Regions from separate parts of the Homo sapiens genome. Here region 1 is linked to region 2. The links are contacts of gene promoters, found by promoter capture Hi-C in human tissues and cell types (Jung and others, 2019). All regions are on one chromosome and are shown on one strand. The core of a region is centred on a gene start or on the middle of the fragment in contact, and the rest is flanking DNA. Distances in the headings are between cores, read along the strand shown.

Evidence for each region. The method cuts DNA at HindIII sites, captures the fragments that hold promoters and counts their contacts. A contact is called where the count stands out against the background at its distance.
Region 1: the fragment with the promoter of MAP1LC3A here is called in contact with a fragment that was not itself captured in region 2 in 1 of the 25 tissues and cell types used here (dorsolateral prefrontal cortex).

The regions. Positions count from the first base shown.
Region 1 is chr20:34,557,405-34,560,203 of GRCh38, forward strand. MAP1LC3A (microtubule associated protein 1 light chain 3 alpha) reads left to right here and starts at 1,314. Exons shown (of 4, transcript NM_032514.4): 1 at 1,314-1,504; 2 at 1,804-1,859; 3 at 1,943-2,049; 4 at 2,332-2,799. The coding sequence starts at 1,465. The coding sequence ends at 2,494. RefSeq lists silencers at 1,016-1,105, 1,446-1,495. The HindIII fragment of the contact is 19,125 bases long and covers 1-2,799 here.
Region 2 is chr20:35,258,254-35,260,953 of GRCh38, forward strand. All of the region lies in intron 2 of MMP24-AS1-EDEM2 (MMP24-AS1-EDEM2 readthrough), which reads right to left. The region is part of intron 4 of MMP24 (matrix metallopeptidase 24); the gene reads left to right. Among named protein-coding and RNA genes, the nearest start is that of MMP24-AS1-EDEM2, 19 kb to the right of the region's middle. The HindIII fragment of the contact is 5,720 bases long and covers 1-2,700 here.

The DNA of each region.
Region 1 (2,799 bases), core at 64-2,563, 700 kb before region 2:
CAGACAATGCTCAGTCTCTTTAACCCCCTCTCAAATTGCCCTCTCAGTCTTCCATGTTCTTGTGTCTCATGCATCTTGTTTCTGTGGCCCACAAATTAATCATTATTATTCATATTGCATATTAAATGCTTGTTTAGATTCACATGTTTACCAATTTGCTCACCATTTTTCCATCTAATTTCTTCCTTTTGGGTTCCATGTCCTTGTTACTAAACTACATTCTTTAAAAATTATTTCGGCGGCCAGGCGTGGTGGCTCACACCTGTAATCCCAGCACTTTGGGAGGCCGAGGCGAGTGGATCACGAGGTCAGGAGATCGAGACCATCCTGGCCAACATGGTGAAACTCCATCTCTACTAAAAATACAATAATTAGCTGGGGGTGGTGGCAGGCGCCTGTAATCCCAGCTACTGAGGAGGCTGACTGAGGCAGGAGAATCGCTTGAACCCGGGAGGCAGAGGTTGCAGTGAGCTGAGATCGCACCACTGCACCCCAGCCTGGCGACAGAACGAGACTTCGTCCCCCTCCCCCCTCCCCCAAAAAAATGTTGATCTTCAGTCTGCGCATTCTGCTCTGGATTTTAAGCATCATTTCTGGCAGCTCTTTTTCAGGAACTGTCTCTGCAGGTCTTTCAGTGTTCGCCTCTGGAGCTCTGCTCGGGCCCGCGAGTTCTCCTGGCGTTGCCATCTGTGCCCTTTTCCTTATTCCCCATCACCTGTCTCTCTGGTGAGCTGCTTCCGATCAGCCTCCAGGTCCACGATTTCTCTTCTGTTGTCCTTTTCTGCCTTCTCACCTCATCCTCTGAGACCTGAATTTCGATGGCTCTACTTTTCAATTATATTATTCTTTTTCAAACCTGGGCGTTCATTTCTAGCATCCTGTTCTATCCTGTGTCTGACTGTGCCTCCCGCACCTTCTCCCTTCTCTCGCCCTAAGCCCCGTGAAGGCGCCGGGCCTTTGGCTCCGGCTGTTTCCCACGGCGCCCAGAACCGCGTCAGTCCTGACACAGACTCGGTGAGGGCGGGAAGTGGTGCCGTGGGGCTGCAGCCTGGCCCGCCCGCTCCATCGGCCTAGGGCGGCCCCACCGCCCTCCGGGCCTTACCTTGAGTTCGGGCTGCGGGAGAAGCTCCCGCGCTGCCCATGACGTCACGGGACTGTGACGCGCCCAGAAGCCCCGCCCCTCGCGTCCCGGTCCGCGGACCCAGGCTCTCTGCGCCGTGACGTCACGGGTCCGGGCGGGCGGGTTGTGCGTCGGCCCAATGGGAGCGGCGCACTGGCCTCCCCTTTAAGGAATGTTGTGACCTGACGTCACCGGGCGAGTTACCTCCCGCAGCCGCAGCCGCCGTGCTCAGCGCGAGCCCCGGAGCCCTTGAGCGCGAGGCGCGGAGCCCCCGGAGCCCCCAAACCGCAGACACATCCCCGCGCCCCAGAGCCCCGGCCTGCGCGCCCAGCCGGGCCCGCGCGATGCCCTCAGACCGGCCTTTCAAGCAGCGGCGGAGCTTCGGTGAGGCCCGGCAGGCGAGCTGCGAGCTCTGGGGCAGGGGTGCCGGCCGACCCCGACTGCCGCAGGTGACGTCAGCCCCGTGACGTCAGGCTCTGGCTGGACCCTCGGGCTGGGACCAGCTCCGGCCTGGGCGGGGGCTGCCCGCTTCCCCACCGCGATAGGTGCCAGGGGCTGTGGGGCCTGATGGCCCCGGGGGTGGGGGCTGGAGCTGGGGCGTGGCCGGGGGCCGCCCCTCCGGGACAGGCGGGGCGGACCTGGGCCGGCCCGACCCGGCCTCACGGTCTGGCCGCTGTCCGCAGCCGACCGCTGTAAGGAGGTACAGCAGATCCGCGACCAGCACCCCAGCAAAATCCCGGTGAGTCCCGCACCCCCAGCCCTGCCCCGCCCCCGCCTCGCGCGTTCCCGACACGACCCCCTGCCCGCCCGCCCTGCTCCCAGGTGATCATCGAGCGCTACAAGGGTGAGAAGCAGCTGCCCGTCCTGGACAAGACCAAGTTTTTGGTCCCGGACCATGTCAACATGAGCGAGTTGGTCAAGATCATCCGGTGCGTGGGCAGCCGCCGCCAGGAGGTGGCTAGGGTCGGGAGGGGAGCCGGGTTCCCGCCGAGAAGGGGTGGGAGTGGGGTCAGGGGTGATGGGACCGGGCGGTGGGCCCCTGTTCTGGGGTGGCTGGAAAGGTCAAGGTCGGGGCTGCAGTCGGTGTTGGGTCAGAGGTGACAGCTGGGGTGAGAATGGGTGTGAAAGGCTGGGAATCATTCTGGGGGTCAGGGCTATGTCCGTCCCGCAGCCAAGCCCCTCACAGCTGCATACTCTCCCGCCGGCTGCAGGCGCCGCCTGCAGCTGAACCCCACGCAGGCCTTCTTCCTGCTGGTGAACCAGCACAGCATGGTGAGTGTGTCCACGCCCATCGCGGACATCTACGAGCAGGAGAAAGACGAGGACGGCTTCCTCTATATGGTCTACGCCTCCCAGGAAACCTTCGGCTTCTGAGCCAGCAGTAGGGGGGCTCGGCCTGGGAGTCGGGCGGCCCCGGTCAGGCCCTGCCCAGAGAGCTCCTGGTTCCTGAACTGAGCTGCCTCTACCGTGGTGGGCTGGGCAGGCATGTGCCCCCCTAGTCAGAGGGCACCAACCCACCTACTCTGCCCCTGGGTGGATCCTGGGCCGGTCGTGTTAGGGTTGTCCCTCTGGGTGCTGGCTGGTGGGATGGGGGAGGGTGGGGAGCAGCTCCCAGCACCCCTGCTGTGTGGTTCATCTTTTTTTTAGGCCCCTGCCTGTCTGCCCATCTGCCCCTCACC
Region 2 (2,700 bases), core at 38-2,537:
CTAATTTTTAACATAAGCACACAATCATTATCAAGCCCAACAAAATTAACAATAATTTTTTAAAATCTAATACCCAGTTCGAGTTCACTTTCCCAAAGTACCTTGGAAATGTCTTTTACAGTTGTTTGCTTGAATCAGGATCCAAACAAGATCCACACACACATGGCTGACATGTCTCTTAAAGCCCTTTTTATTTAAAACACCCCCGTCCTACACACACGTTTCCCTCCATATATTTGTTGAAGAAACTGGGTCAGGTGTCCCGAGTATAATCATTTGGCGTGACTAGAATCAAGTTTACTTTTAATACGTCTCTCTTGCCCATAATTCCTGAATGTTGTTCATTAGATTTACAGGCTGACTAGATTCAAGTTCAATTTTTTTGGCAAGAATACTTCCTAGGTGGTGCTGGTACTTCCTATTCACCATATTAGCAAATACATATGATGCAGACTGTCCCACTTTTAGTGATGTTGAGGTCGAGCATTTGCTTCAGGTTGTGTCAGCCTGACCCAACCATTATACAATTCACCTGGAGAACTTAAAAAAAAAAAACAACAAAAAAGATTGCCTACGTCCCAAACCAAACCTCCTGAATCAGAATATCTTCCCCACCTCCTCCATGTGTTTAAAAGGCTCCCCGGGCCAGGTGCGATGGGAGCACTGGAGTAATCCCAGCACTTTGGGAGGCCGAGGGGGGGCAGATCACCTGAGGTCAGGAGTTCGAGACCAGCCTGGCCAACATGGCAAAACCCCGTCTCTACTAAAAATACAAAAATTAGCCGGGTGTGGTGGCACATGCCTGTAATCCCAGCTACTCGGGAGGCTGAGGCAGGAGAATGGCTTGAACCCGGGAGGCGGAGGTTCAAGTGAGCCGAGATTGCACCACTACACTCCAACCTGGGTGACAGAGTGAGATCCTGTCTCAAAAATAAAAAAGAAAGAAAATACTTTTTAAAAAAATAGGAAATTCACCCCTTTGGAAAGTGGCAGAGCCAGGTGTGACCCCAGGACTCCGCATTTTTAAGTCACCACAGGTGGTTCTGCTGCAGGTGGTCCGAGTATTTCCCTTGGTAAAATACGGTGCTTTTGGCGCTGTTCCATTCCGGGGGCTGTCACCTGGTTCTTCAACACAAAGCTTGTCCTCAAGGAACCCACAGTCCTGGGGCAGCGAGCATGTGCACTAGTGGCAATCACGTGGGGAGGAAGCGGTCAGTGCCATAAAGGCAGTTCAGGGAAACTGCTGGGAGGGCACAGCAGAAGGAGCACTCACTGCCAGCTGGGAAGTCATGGAAGGCTTCCTGGAAGACAGGCATGGAGCTGAACTTTGAAGGAATCAGGTTATTCCAGGGGAAGGGGCAGCACTGGCAGAAGAACAGAGGCAAAGGGAAATGCTATCACCTTTCGTGGGGCTGGGGGAGTTAATGAGATGGGAACGACCAAATATGGAGATCCTAAAAGAAAGAAATGAGGCAGAGACAAGGTCCACTTGAGTAGCCGAGTAGACTGCTGGGGACTTGCTCGGAGGCCCAGGGACTTACAGGAACACACCCTATCAGGGGTGCTGGTGCTCACACACAGCTCAACAGGACCCTGCTAATGAAGGGTAATACTTCTGTACCAGGAGCTGGTATCAGCGCATTACACACCCTGCCCCATGAATCTTCACCCACATCCCTATGACGAAGGTGCCATTGTTCCTTCTATCTTCCAGAGGAAGAATTTAAAATGTCACACTGCTAGGACATGGCAGAGCTGGGATTCAAAACCAGGCAGTCTGGCTCCCAGAGACTGCATTCCTGACCACTCTGCTTCCCTGCCGCTCACCCTCTTGAAGAGTGAAGACCCTAGCAGCCTCCTGCCCATGGAGCATGGGGTCCTCATAGCAGGCCTCTCCTCCTCATACCTCTGCCTTCACCTCACAAGCTCAGGGAGTCCTCCTGCCCCTGCCCTGCTCCCTCTGTCTCCCCCTCAGGGCTCTCTTGGGTTTCTGTGCAGCAGGATACTGGCTCCCTCGCTCTTCCCTTCCTTTTGGTTCCTGGACCCAAACCACAGGCCTCTTTCCTTTAAGGGGTCACTCCTGTTCTCTGCAGACCCAGAACAGGGGTTAAAAGAGCAAGAGACAAGGCTGCGGACAAAGGTTTTGAGTCTCCCACAGTGCTCAGAGCCGTGTTCCCTGGTTCCCAGCTGAGCTCCCTGTGGACAGCCCCTGGGGAAGAGCCTGCTCAGGAGACAGAGGCCCTGAACAGCTTGTCCCAGGTCATAGAATAGCCCAGGAGCACAGCCAGGACTGGACCCCAGGAAGCAGAGCTGCCTTCCGCTGGCTCTACCAGTTTGTTTGGGATGGAGCTCAGCGATGAGCTCACCCTTCCCTGCTGCCAGAGGGGCCAGGACCTGAGTAAGGAGCTGGGGGCGGCCTGGCCCTCTCATGCCAGCAGAAGGCCAGCCCCAGGCTTTTGGCCAACCTTGCACTGATCTTGCCCATCCCCCTTCCTTTCCGTTGCTCAAAGGTGGCTTCACAGAAGACACTGGCGGTGTCAGTAGTGTGGGAGGCATGTACTGCCCGTGGCCTGGGTCTGCCCCATGGGGTTCTTCTCTCTTCCAGAGACCTAAGCCAGGAAGGCCAAACAATCCCCACCCCCATGTGTCCCTAGGCCAGTGACGCTGGGGCCAGAGTGGGCAGTAGGACTCTAGACCACC